Regions from separate parts of the Homo sapiens genome. Here all the other regions are linked to region 2. Evidence: promoter capture Hi-C in 16 types of primary human blood cells and fetal thymus (Javierre and others, 2016). All regions are on one chromosome and are shown on one strand. The core of a region is centred on a gene start or on the middle of the fragment in contact, and the rest is flanking DNA. Distances in the headings are between cores, read along the strand shown. Region 1 holds the start of HPF1 (histone PARylation factor 1). Region 2 holds the start of GALNT7 (polypeptide N-acetylgalactosaminyltransferase 7). Region 3 holds the start of MFAP3L (microfibril associated protein 3 like).

Evidence for each region. The method cuts DNA at HindIII sites, captures the fragments that hold promoters and counts their contacts. A CHiCAGO score of 5 or more calls a contact.
Region 1: the fragment with the promoter of HPF1 here is called in contact with the fragment with the promoter of GALNT7 in region 2 in 3 of 17 cell types (fetal thymus, total B cells and activated CD4 T cells); the score reaches 8.4 in fetal thymus.
Region 3: a fragment that was not itself captured here is called in contact with the fragment with the promoter of GALNT7 in region 2 in 1 of 17 cell types (total B cells); the score reaches 6.2 in total B cells.

Annotation. Positions count from the first base shown.
Region 1 is chr4:169,754,791-169,759,201 of GRCh38, reverse strand. HPF1 (histone PARylation factor 1) reads left to right here and starts at 1,258. Exons shown (of 8, transcript NM_017867.3): 1 at 1,258-1,372. The coding sequence starts at 1,325. It overlaps LOC107986240 (a long non-coding RNA gene), which reads right to left and starts at 1,139. Exons shown (of 3, transcript XR_001741529.2): 1 at 978-1,139. RefSeq lists an enhancer at 1,341-1,410. The HindIII fragment of the contact is 1,294 bases long and covers 178-1,471 here.
Region 2 is chr4:173,166,213-173,170,765 of GRCh38, reverse strand. GALNT7 (polypeptide N-acetylgalactosaminyltransferase 7) reads right to left here and starts at 1,955. Exons shown (of 12, transcript NM_017423.3): 1 at 1,805-1,955. The coding sequence starts at 1,930. GALNT7-DT (GALNT7 divergent transcript) reads left to right here and starts at 1,114. Exons shown (of 7, transcript NR_134242.1): 1 at 1,114-1,902; 2 at 2,653-2,804; 3 at 3,976-4,121; 4 at 4,467-4,553. RefSeq lists silencers at 577-1,806, 2,037-2,156, 2,227-2,276 and an enhancer at 2,587-2,686. The HindIII fragment of the contact is 476 bases long and covers 1,883-2,358 here.
Region 3 is chr4:170,023,890-170,028,238 of GRCh38, reverse strand. It overlaps MFAP3L (microfibril associated protein 3 like), which reads left to right and starts at 1,844. Exons shown (of 3, transcript NM_021647.8): 1 at 1,844-2,005. RefSeq lists enhancers at 619-758, 748-1,467 and silencers at 939-1,008, 1,467-1,866, 1,947-2,036. The HindIII fragment of the contact is 1,339 bases long and covers 1,328-2,666 here.

The DNA.
Region 1 (4,411 bases), core at 9-2,508, 3.4 Mb after region 2:
TACTCCGGAGGCTGAGGTAGGAGAACGGTGTGAACCCGGGAGGTGGAGCTTGCAGTGAGCTGAGGTGGCACCACTGCACTCCAGCCTGGGCAACAGAGCGAGACTCCGTCTCAAAAAAAACAAAACAAAACAAAACAAAACAAAAAACACTGGAAACAGAGAAAAGATCCTAAAGCTTCTTGAGACAAAACAAAACAGAAAGGAAAGCAGGTTACATATCAAGAAATTTAGTGACCTGTGAAGGAGAAGGAAATATAACGACATAGTTTCTTAACAATTCTGGAAGCTAAAATATTGCGGAGCAAGCCCTCCAATATTCCGAGTGAAAGTTATTTTCAACCTAGAACTGTGCTCAGCCAGAATAAAAACATTTCCAGACATGCACACTCTGTGGGAAAAAAGACCTGGCAGCAACCTCTCTCAAGGAACTATTGGCGGATATGTTCCACAACATGAGGGTATATAATCAAGAAAAAGGAACACCCAGATTGAGGAAATAGAGAACTCATCTCAGGAATGAGGAATAAGACCTTCCCAGGATGGATGTGAAGGAGGTCCAAGGACATCAGTTGAGAGTTGTGCCTTCCAAATTTTATGTGCATAGGAATTACCAGGGGATCTTGTTGCGATGCAGATATTGATTCAGTAAGTCTGGGTAAGGCCTGAGATTTGGCGTTTTAACAAATTCCCTCAGGATGCTGAGGCCGCTGGTTCAGGGACTACACTTTGCATATCAGCGGTGTAGAGGAAAAACAGTCCAAATTGTACCAAGAAGACGACGGTACAGAGACAGAGACCGACAGACATTTATTTCCTTCTTGGAGACAATCGGGAATGAATTAGTGTAAGCCAATAACCGTACAGTAGGGTAGGGAGAGGGATGGAGGAGAAGGAGAAAAGGATTAATATTTTAAGTAAATATAAATGAAGAAAAAACAAGGAAGGGGCTGTATTGAGAACAGCCGCATACATCCAACCTTGCCTCTAGTAGACACCTGAAGAGGAAGGTTGGACCACTCTAAGGATTCAGATTCAGTAGTCTGGGGGGTCTCTGGAGCGACCCTGGAAGATGCTCCAGAAAGCCTAGATGCAGACTACGCTGACAGAAGACGCTCCTTGCACGCGCCCAGCACGGGAGTGGGCGGGGCCTCAACGCGTCCGGTGCCAGGTCTCAGGGGGCGGGGAATGGGCGGAGCCTTTCCCCTAAATTGGCGAGCCCGGGCGGCGCTGAAATTCGGCTTGGAGGCTTTTGAACCCGGAAGCGGTTGGCGGCGCTCGGAAGCGGCCGCGGATCGGGGAATTCTGCTGGCGCTGCAGCTGCAGAATGGTCGGCGGTGGCGGGAAGCGCAGGCCCGGCGGAGAGGGGCCGCAGGTACTGCCGGAAAGGCTGTGCGGGCTACGCGGGGCGCTTTGGGTGACAGCCAGGGCACCAGGAGGCAGCGCTTTTCATTCATCCAGTGACTATTAAGCTTGCTGTGTGTCCAGGGGCTGCGGTTTGCTGCGGGGATCCTGCCCAGGGCCGCTGTTTCGCGCTCTGCAGGGGGTTGGACCAGGAAAGTAGCTCCTCTGCATCTTCTGCCCAGCTCCTCTTGGAGCATTTCCTGGGGAAACGGATTAAGCCAACCAATGGTTCATTCGCCCAGCCAGATTGATTGGGAACCGATTACATACCTGACATTCTGTGGGGCGCTGCGGATTTGGGGGTCAACCTGCTTGCTCCTGCTGCTTGTTGAGCCCTCGGCCTGGGGAGGAGGGGCACAAGCAAATATGCATTCTACTGTGACTTTTTTGTTTGGGATTATAACGCTGGTGTGTAGAAAGTGCTATGGAAACACTGAAGGAGGATTTAACAAGTCCCAGGGGGTGTTAAAGAAGACTTTTAAGACAACTCTTTGAAAATTGGTTTTGAAGGCAGAGAAGTAAGATTCTGAGACATAAAACTGTAGGAGATGTTTGGGCGTAGCGGAGCGTTCGGCTTGGCTGGAGCCAGGGAAATGGGAAAATAAGAGGGACCTGATCATAAAAGCACTACTGAGAGGGGAGGAGGAGAGAGTGTGTGCATTCTCATACTTTACTACGATTTCGGAAGTTCTGTAACCACTACAGTAGCAATAAGGGGAATCAGGAAAGAAGTGCCATTGTGATAACTAAAGTTTTAGAAAAGTTACTCTGGTAGTGTCATAAATCGGACAGGGTGAGACATTCTTAGAGGGCTTAACTAACTGTTAAAGGGCCATCGGTATAGGCATCCTTCATATTGGGTCATGCATTCTAGGAAGACCAGGGTAAAGAAGAAGTGTAGCCTCTGAAGGGGACAGCTGTTCTAAATCCTAGTTGTTAGGGCTATGGAGATGCTGAACTAGTGTGTGAGTAAAGGCACAGCTGAAAAAATTCTCTTTTTGAAGGTGCAGTGAAGAACTGCTTTGGTGGAGTGATGTGCTTAACTAGAAATACAATAACAGAAATGAAGATGAGTCTGTAGAGACTATAACCGTAATGGCCAGCATTTGTATATTATGTGCTAGGACCGTTCTGTGTATTTTTACATATAATAACATTCCTTGTAACAACCCCGATATAGGCACTGTATGCCCTTTTTGCAGATGAGAAAACAAAGCACAGAGAGGTTAAGTAACTTGCCTAAGGTTGGAAATCAGTAGAGTCAGGAGTCAACCCAGGCAACCTAACTATTATGCAAAACTGCCTTTCAGCAAGGCAGATTAAGCCTTTTCTAACATCTTAAGTTGGAGCCAGTCTTTGAACGTCTGAACAAAGACAGTTATGAAAACAGAAGATAGGATAGCTCAGGACTTCATATGTTCCTACTGTTCTATATTTGATGTTGGAGAAGCAGCATAGTGAAGTGGTTGAGGATCTGCTGTGGACCCAGATTTAAACCTGAGTTTAAATCCCTTCTCTTCCACTTCCTAGTTAGGGACGTAGGGAGGTTAACCTCAGTTTCCTCAGCTGTACGATGAGGTTAATGGTATCTAGTGCATGAGACAGTTGAGGACTAAATGAGTTAATCCACAGAAGGTGCTTAGAACAGTGAAACAGCACAAAATAAGTTCTCAGTAAGTATCACTTAACTACTTGTTTTTACTATTATATTATCTTTACTATTACTATTTGCTATTATTGATACTCACTTTTGGATTCATTGTTCAACAGGCTTTTTGTTGAACGTAATTTTTTTTATAAATCAGACACATTATAATCCTTGGCATAATAAACTGTTACCATATTCATGATCGTCTTTGACCTTATTTATGTTAAGTAATGTAACAAACACCAGTGAACCCATTGCCCAATCCCAAAGCTGAAACAGACAATAGCTCTACATCTACACGTGTTCCTCTCCTATCCGTTCAGCCTTCTTCCTGTCAATTATTTTCAGTGTAGCTATCCTGAATTTTGTTTTCCCTTGCCTTTTAAAAATAGGCTTATCTCCCATGAGTGTATACCTAAACAATATTTATTCTTAGTTTTTGAACTTCATAAAAAGGCTATCATGCTGCATATAATCAAGAGCTTTTTTCCTCATTAAAAATATTGAATATAGGTTGGTCCATATTGTGTAGCCATAGAGTAACCATTCGGTAAATGACGGAGATTGGTTCCAGGACCTTAGGAGAGCATACACTAATTTTTAAAGCAACAAGAAAACAAACCATCTCATTAGCCAAAGATAACACAGTTAATAGTCTAGTATACAGTAACAAATTTCCATATATCCCCAAATCTGAGCATACCCAAGTTCCAAAGTTGGTCCTGTGGAACCCGAGTATACGAAAAGTTGGCCCTCTCTATAAGTGGATTTCACATCCCAAGAATACTGTATTTTTTTATTTGCATTTGGTTGGAAAAAAAATTCATGTATAAGTGGGTCCACAAAATTCAAACCCTTGTTGCTCAAGGGTCAACTGTAATATTAAGTGTAATAGTCTATTGTTTGAAAACCTTACAACTGTTCTCCTAACAATAGGTATTTCATTTGTTCTGTTTTTGCTCTTGGAATTAATGCCACCATGACCATTCTTGTATCATCTGATTACATTTTGTAGACGTTGAATGATACCTAACGTTAATAAACTTCAGACTACTGAGAAAATAGAAGAATATAAATATGAGGGGGCGGGGGGAGGGATAGCATTAGGAGATATACCTAATAATGACGAGTTAATGGGTGCAGTACACCAACATGGCACATGTATACATATGTAACAAACCTGCACATTGTGCACATGTACCCTAAAACTTAAAGTATAATAATAATAAAATAAAAAAATATATAAATATGAGAAACATCTAGCTCAGAATTTCTCAACTTGAGCACTGTTGACATTTGGGGCCAGTAGTCTTTGTTGAGGATGCCTATCCTGGGCATTATAGGATGTTGAGCATACCTGGC
Region 2 (4,553 bases), core at 706-3,205:
CTACCAGAAAATAGGGGGTTAAACATTTCTAGCTACATGTAAAAAGCCATTTGATGACTTAAAACAAATATCCTCAATTGCAATATTCAGTTATCCTTTGTCAATAAGTCATATTGAGAGCAAAATTATAAAAAGATCACCATCACTCCATGAGCTGAGAAGCTTAAAACCGCAAATGTACTGAAAAGGAAAACTGATACTTTTTATTACCATCAATTTAGATGACTTAGATGGGAATCTATCCCAGATATTACAAAGGGATTCCACTGCTGTAGAGACTTCAAATACTAAAACTTCCAGATTACATCTAATCTCATGATATAGGCGAAGAGCTGATAATGGGATCTCCTCCTAGGATTCTTACTCTTGAAAGGACGCCACAAGCCTTTTTGCCCAACTTCTTGATGCTAACTTTCCAGAAGGAAAGTTAAATAAACATGACATAGAAGCGATGCTCATCACACTTGCAAAAAGCACTTTACAACAGAGAGAGCGACTCGACTCCTCCTGCAGCCCCGCCGCCTCGGCGGTCGTGAGCCCCTCATACCCTCTCCTACCCCCACTGGCAGCCGGCCCAGTTGGCTGTCCCAGCGGGGAGGAGGAAGCAGGTGGTGCAACGGTTCATCCGGGGGGAAGCAGGTCAGGGTCGGGGGCGAGGCCGGTGCGCGCCGCCCGCTGCCGGGTCAGGGAAGCCGCAGTGCCCGCGGTCCCTTCCCCGCGCGGCGCGGCTCCGGGTAACTAATGTTCCGAGGCGCCTGACTAAACCCTCCAAATCCAAGGAATGTCAGCGCTAACACTCGCGCCCTGGGCGGCAGACAAATGCGTCCCAGCGGAGCCGCCGCGAGCTCCGCGCCGCCGCTCCCCTCGGCGTCGGCCTGAGCTAGCCGGCAGCCGGCGCGGGGCGGCCGGGCGCCGACACAAGTTAGTTTTCCGGCCCAAGCAGCCCTGCCGCAGCCAAGGAAGAGGAACTGCTCCTCTTCCCCCGGATAGCGCCCGAGCACTGCCACAGCAGGGGCTTCCCCAGGCGCTGAGGGCTGGGGGCGGCGGGCAGGCGGGGCGGGGACGCCCCTCCGCCATCTCCGGCCAACCGCCCCTCCCTCGCCCAGGGACGCGAGGGGGACCGGCGGTCCGGGCGAGGCCTCGGCCGCGCATCGCACCCCGGCTCCCCGCCGCCGGAGTTGAGGGGGAGGCGCGCTCTCCGTAAGAGCCGGAGGCGGGGCGCCATCGCCCTCCCACTCCCCGGCGGGCGGGCCGGGGGAGCCCGGGGCTGCGAACACCCCCAGACGGGCGGCTGCGGGAGGGGAGGCTGGACCAAGGGGCCTGGTCCACCGGACCAGCGGTGGCGGCATCGGCATCTCGCCTCCTTCAGGCCTGCACGCGCCACAGGCCGCAGCCTGGACCAACCCCGCGTCCCCGGGCCGTGAGCGCTGCGGTCCCGGCCCCCCAGAGCGGGACGCCGGGCGGCCGCAGCCCCCCGGACCCGGCTCTCCGCCCGCTCCGCCCGCAGTCCCGGCGCGGAGAGCGGCCGCCCGAGCCGCTGCCGCGGCAGCGCGGGTGTCGGCGACGGAGCCCGGGGCGGGGAAGAGCGGAGGAAGGGGCGGCGAGGGGGCGGGCCGGCGGCGGCCAGGGAGGTCGGAGTGCGCGGGGCTCGGCACCCCCTCGGCCCGCGCTGCGCCAGCACCACCTGCGGAGCTGCGGTGCCCACGCCGTGCCGCGACCCCGCCGCCCCTGCTCCCTCCACACGCGGGCAAACAAAACAAGTTGCCGGTCGCTGCCGCCGGAGGGGGCCGGGCGGGTCACTCACCCTCATCCTGCTCAGCGGGCTTGGGTCGTCCGGCCGCGGGGTCAGGGAAGACCAGAGGACCACTAGCCCCAGGAAGCTTCCCACCACCAGCAAACTGCGTAAGATGAACCCAATCTTCAGCCTCATCTTCCTCCGGCGGCGAGAGACTCACAGCCCGGCGCAGCCGCCGCCACCGCTCTCCCCTCCCTCCTTCCCCCTCCTCCGGCTCTCCTCCCCCTCTTTCCCCCACCCCTACCGCTACGGCTGCCGCCCTCTCCGCTGCCTGCCCTTTCCAGCTCCAGATCCGGAACTCCCCTCGGCTACACCTTTCCCCGGGCTCTTCCCTCCGCTCCTCCCCGTGGCCCCCTCCCCTCTGGCGGCCACCGCAGAGCTCCGACTGACCCGTGTGCCTCGCTCTGCCAGGCTGCCTTCCTCTCTACCTGCCCCCTTCCAGATCCGCAGTCCCCTGCTCTCCACGCGAGCCCCCTTCACAGTCCCTGCTACCTTGTAACTAACTTGCACTTTTCCCGAGTCCGGTTCTTAGCCTTTGCCCTGCAGCTCAGCTCCTTAAAGCTTTCAGATCCCCAAACTTTTATTGTAATTATGGACAATAACTCCGTCCTTAACGCCTGTGCCCTCCGGGATCCCGTGGCCCGCCGCCCCCTCCGTTGGACCTGGAGTCGCTCTCGTCTGCACCTCTCCCTTAGACCCACTTCCCTGAGCCCCTTGTCGAGAGGCTTTCAGGAAGCCAACCAGGAAGTGGGACTACCGCTGCTGCTGCAGCAGCTCCACGTGGCTGATTTATAGCTGAAGGGTTTTTTTTTTTCCTTCTTATTGATTGTTCTTGCTTTTTCACACGGCTCCTTAAGGTGGTGAATTTGTAACCGAAAGGCCCAGGTGAGATGTGCAAATATCACTGGATTGGAGGAGCTCACTTGGAAAGCCAGTATTCCTCCTGAGCTAATGAAAAGAAAGGCTGTCGTCTTATGCCAAAAGCAATACCAACCTTGTTCACGGGCTGGTAAGTTTCAAATCCAAGGACCACGGATTTCAACTCCACCCTCATTGCGTCCCTCAGATCTGATATTTGCCACTTGATTTCTGCTTTTCAAACGCCTTTTCTGCCTGTGTTACCTAAATTACACAGTAAAGGATATTGGCAAGTGTTTAGCCAAATGCCCCACCCTGAGGAAATAATTTTTCTGCCCATATCTCCCAATAAAGATGTCTATGCCTTTATAGCAGAATGTATGTAATTACATTATCAGTGTACTATATCCTAAACTGCTAATTTAAATTTAAGTCGAACAAAACGTTTTAAGATTTTATCCTAAGTTTTTTGGGGTTTTTTTTCTTTTCTTTTTTTTTTTTTTTTTTTTTTTTTTTTTTTTTTTTTTTTGAGACGGAGTCTCTCACTCTGTCACCCAGGCTGGAGTAGAGTGCAGTGGTGCGATCTTGGCTCACCTCAACCTCCACCTCTCGGGTTCAAGCAATTCTCCTGCCTCAGCCTCCCCCGTAGCTGGGACTACAAGTGCACACCGCCACGCCCAGCTAATTTTTTTTTTTTTTGTATTTTAGTAGAGACGAGGTTTCACGGTGTTGCCCAGGCTGGTCTCGAACTCCTGAGCTCAGGCAATCTGCCTCGTACTCCCAAAGTGCTAGGATTACAGCTGTGAGCCACCACACCTAGGCTATCCTAAGTTTTAAGATGGTAACAGCTGATTCTTTTTTCTCGTACTGTCTCACATCTGCAAGTTTTTTGCTTTAAAACAAAGCTCAGTTATGTAAAGTTTTACAGTGAAACAATTTCAATTATCAAGATAGATAAAGAATTATACCAAACTACCTTCATGTGCTTTTTGGCTTGGCTTACAATAGCTAGTATATCAGGGAGTTCTGTAGATGCCATAATTTCAAAATTTCCACAAAATATCTGAAGTGATATCCTCATGAACAGCATGGTTCCGGAAATGTAGAATGGATTGTAGTTAGGTGTATTATTGGTTGGCTGAAGGACTGTACATCATATTGTATAAAAGTCCACTATATAGAGTACCTGGAAGAGGGACTGTCAAGTGTTAAACACAAATCACTGCTTGACTTAGCATTTATATCAGCCCCTTAGGTTAAAACCAGTTGTTTTAAGTAGAAGATGAGAGATTTTGCCTAAGACCATTTTTTTTGTGTGACAGAGATCTAGAGTGTGTAATTCACGAAGTATGAATCTGCTGGGTAATGTGATATGAAAAGCGAATGCACCATTTCTTGGTGATGATTCAGGTCAGCGTTGGGACCCAGGAATCTCCTGTTAATCAGTACCCTGGTGATTTTGATCCAGGTAATCTGGGCACCACCTTTGGAGAAACACTGAAAGGAAGCAAGGTTGCGGGGGGTGGTTGGGAAAAGTCTTATATGGATATCTTTGGAAGACAGAAATAGGCTCATTTATGGACTCAACTTGAACTGTTCAGAAGTGAGGTGGACTCCTTTTCTTTTTTATTTATTTTTTTTTTGAGTTGAGGTCTTGCTCTGTCACCCAGGCTGGAGTGCAGTGGCACATCCATAGCTCACTGCAGCCTGGAACTCCTGGGCTCAAGTGATCTTCCCACCTCAACCTCCCGAGTAGCTAGGACCACATGTGTGAGTCATCATGCCCAGCTAATTTTTTTTTTATTTTTTGTAGAGACGGGGTCTATTATCTGGTCCTGTTGTCAAGGCTGGTCTCAAACTCCTGGCCTCCAGCGATCCTCCCTTTTTGGCCTCCCAAGAT
Region 3 (4,349 bases), core at 748-3,247, 3.1 Mb after region 2:
AGTACTGTCTTCTCTAAATGAGAATTAAAAGCAAGTTCCCCACACCGACCTCAAGTGGTTTCTAAGATAGCAAGAGTGCATTTTGCAGGTTGTCTGAGAATTTAAAAGAGATGGGGGAGGGGAGGAAATAGAGTCAGAGTGAATGCAGAAATGCTGGAGAAGAAAACGGGATATAATACTGCGGAATATTTTAATAGTGGGGACACAAATGTCATAATTAATAAAGCAGGTGGAAAGTTCGCGCTGTGGTGCAATTGTAAAGAATGCTTATTAAATACTTAAAAACAAAGAAAATTTACGTTTCTCAAAAGGACAGCTGAAAAATTCCTTGAGCTAAAATGTGTTGCTATTCAAGATGCCATAAAACTAATGTTAAAATATGATATCTCATTTCAATCTTTTTGGGGGAAAAAATCAGGCTTTGACTCACTCATACGACAGATCCCACGCACCCACCCACCAACATGGCCCTTGGCATGGGCGACCTGCCCACGTGTCGATGCAATCGTGCCTCTCTAGAGCCCTGCTTCCATCCGTTTCCCGAGCTTCGATGTCGTGACGAGAGACCGCGGCTACATCAACCTTGGGCAACCAGATGCAGCCGCGTGCGGCAGCCTGGCACTGCCCGGAGCATGCTCAGTCGGGTCCTGACCCACTTCTGCAGGTCCGACCTCGGGGCGTGGGGTCAGAGGCACTACTTTGCCAGTTTGCCAGGAACAGAGAGGAGCAGAGAGACTGAGAGTTGCTAAAGCTCCTCTCTTGGCACAGCAATGCCTGACCCGGCGGCGGAACATGCCCAGTCTGGCTGCCGGAGCCGCCGGGAGCGTCAATGTGGAAAGTCCACCTTTCCGGGTTTTCGCAGCAACCCACCGGGAAGAGGGCGGTACGGGAGTAAAAAGGCCGGAGTGGGGTGTGGCCAAGAGGGCGGGCACTAAAAAGCCGGGGGAAGGAGCCTGGTCCCGCCCCAGAAATTGAGAGTCTCTGTTCTCTTTTAAAATTAAAAAAAAAAAAAAAAAAAGGGAGATAAGGAGGAGAAGAAGCCACTAACATTGCAGGATCGTGTAGCGAAACTTCTGTAGGTACTTAATAATTTTAGAGTACTCTACTTTTTAATTAAAAAATCAACTTATGGTTCATTAGAAAAAACGTGGAAATTACAAATAATATTTTTAAAGAAAATGAAAAAAAAATTCCTGGAACCCCACCACTCAGAAAGTCACCAGGGAACGGCCCGCTGGGTTTTTTTCCAGACTCTTCCATCTGTGGACTTTGCTTTAAGAGACGTTTAAGACTTACAGCGCAGTCGCCCGGGAAGGCCTGAGAAGCTTTCGGAAGCAAGGTGGTTTGCTCGTGATTGCATTTGATTGCAAGGAGACAGGGTAGGCTTGGGGGTGGGTTGACTGGTTCCCATTTAGCGCCCCAGGATGGGACCCTAAGAAGCCTTTTCCTGGGTGTCCTTGAACACGCGTGCGATGCGACGCCCACAGAAGTTGCGGTGGAAGCCCCGGGCGGGAGAGAGAGCGGAGTGAGAGTCCCGCGCTGCCGCGGAGGCCCTGGGCCTGCGGGTGTGGGGCTCTGGGGGCCGCCGAGGCCCGGCCCAGAGGCTGAGCGGACTGAATGCGGGACTCCCCGGCAACTACAGCCTCCGGTGGCTCCTCCGCGGGGCCGCTCCGCAGCACCGACTGGCTCGCGCCGCACCGCCCGCCCCGCTGCCCCCGCCCGCGGCTGCCGCGAAAACCCGGCGGCTACACCCGCGCCTCCGCGCCGCCCGGCGAGCCGCACTGGGCATGCTCGGCCCCGGCCGGCCCAGGCTCCTGTAGGTGGGAAGCTCCGCGCTCCCGGCAGCCGGCGGCGCAGCTCGCAACGCTGTGAGGCGCCGGCGGAGGCGGCTCGCCCGCAGTAGGCGCTACCGGGCGTCCGGCGCAGAGTGCGGCGCAGCGGCCGCTGTCGGGCTGGCCATGGCGAGGGGTGCACGGCGGCCACCTGAGTGGCGCGGCGGTGTCAGGTTAGCGGGGGCCCCCGGCGGGCCGGGGCGGAGGGGCACGGGTGGGAGCCAGCCCCGCACCGGGTCGGCGGCCGAGTCGGCGCCGGGGCCGCCGAACTTTCGGGTGTTTGGGCTGGCTGAGACTGCGGCGGAGGCTGCGCTGCGAGACGCCGCAGGGTCCGGGCAGCGGGCTCCAGGGGGTCGCAGGATGCTTCGAGATCCGTGCGGGGCGGGGGCTGGCCGTTTGGGGACTGCCGCATCCTGGGCTCGAACCGTAACCTTCCGAGGGCGAGGAGCGCGGAATCCACTGCCAGCTGCCGGCGAGCCTCCTAGGTGTCGTGGGGGAAGGGGACGCCGAACAGCCGTGGGGGCTTTCGCTGGGCTCTGGATCTCTCTCATCGCTGTGCCTCAGTTTACCCGGACAGGGAGGAGCGTGCGCTGGCCAGGGCTCCGGAGAACGTGAATGCGGGTTCCGCGTCGGGAGGGCGCCGTGTCCTGATGCCGCAGGAGTGCGGGCGGCTGTGGGTGCTGCGAGCCGCCGCCTCGCTACTGAAGCTCTCGGAGTTTGTCGCATTTGACTCCATAACAAGTTGACATCGAATTGCTTCATGGCGTGGAATGGGGAAACGTGCTTCATCGGATTAAAATACAGAGTGATTGCAGAACCGATTTATTTTAAGCTTGATCATTAAGCTGTCTTCTCCAGCCCTGAAAAAAAAACTTGCAAGCTTTATAAAGCAAGGTAGCAAAAAAAGGTTTGTAGGTGTATTATCTGCTCACATTGTAGAAAACAGTTAAGATACGATCGAACTGTCATTATTTTTAAGGATACTTAGCAGAAAAGTTTGGTTACTGTGGCAATCTTTATTTTGCGTTATCTTCGATTTAATGTTAAAAACTTGGAAACCGAGCATTGCAGAAGCTCAGTGTTTTTTGTAGTTTTCTCACTTTTGTTTCTAGATGAAACACATTTTTTTCAGTTGCTACTATGCTGAACATAGTAAAATCCTTCAAGATGAAATACAAGATGGAAAAAAATGTCGTTTCATGAGACCGTAAGTTATAACAGTGTAGTTCTTCTGACATTTTACTTACACAGAAAGTGCAATTTGTAGGTCCCAGTGTGGTTTCTACAGTTGTTTATTCCTAAAACATTTAGTACCATTAACACTATTAGGATTATTGTATCTAATAGGGGCAAGATAAACAATCCTGTTCTAGTGGGAACTAGTTCTGCTAACTAAAGCTAAATTCTCAAGCCTCTTTTCTATAAGTACCACTTAGTGGGTTCAGTTGTTTTATTCATTAAGCTTATTACAAAACAATTGTTTACATTCTTTATAGACCTTAATAGACTTTAGAAATGCATTGACTTTTCATTGAGTTGTGGGTAGGCTTTAAGGTTGGTGCTTGCTTGCAAGCCTGAGATGGCTCCAGCTCTAATTCTGGATACTCTCTGGGGTGATTTCCCCCAGTATAGAGTTGGCTCTGTCCTGTGATGCTGCATAACCGAGGTTTAATAATAGGAAAGGCTTGAAACATCCAGACAACAGCAGTAGCAACAACATGATTACCATTTTTATGAATTAGAACCTGCAGTCCCCCATTTTAGCCAAATAGTCTGGTTGGTGATGTTCACTCATCCTAAATTTATTTCTAAATACATTTATAGAAAAATAAGTTTGAAAACTCCAACACAAATATTGAATAATTGTGCTTCTCTTTTCTATAAAAATGCATCAAGTTTAAAATCTTTCATGAAGTACTGCCTGCATGTACACCTTATCCTGAACAGCAGGTCTCATATCCTCAGGTGACATTCCCCAGTAGAAGTAGCTAGAGTCTCCCCTTAGCCTTGGGTTCTTCCTGACCTGGAGGAAGCAGCAAGGCCTCAGTTTACTTTTTGTGAATGTGAGGTTTAATACAGATCAATAGGCCCCCTTCTCGATCCACAAATCCTAAGTACAAATCCTAAGTATTTTCTCAGTGTTAAGAGACACGATGAAATTTAATCAAAGACTTACTTACATACTGCCCTTGGCTTCAAAAAGTCCACATTTCCCTAACCTAAAACTCAAAAAAACAACAGGAGTTAGGTTGAAAAGGGGTTTTATTACTGCTCATGAAGAAAAAAATAGACTTTGTAGGCATGTTACAAAAAAAGGTGATCATTTCTTCTCTTTTGTAGTTAACTATTGGGTTCTTGCAGCTCACTTGCTAGGCACGTGATTTTTAGGTTTATTTCCATGTGTTTAGATTTCTAGACTGTATGATGTTGTTGGTGACATTAGACATTTACAGCAAATTACTCCCTTTAAAAATAGATCTATCCCCCAATCCCTGTGACCTTAATTTATCCAATTCC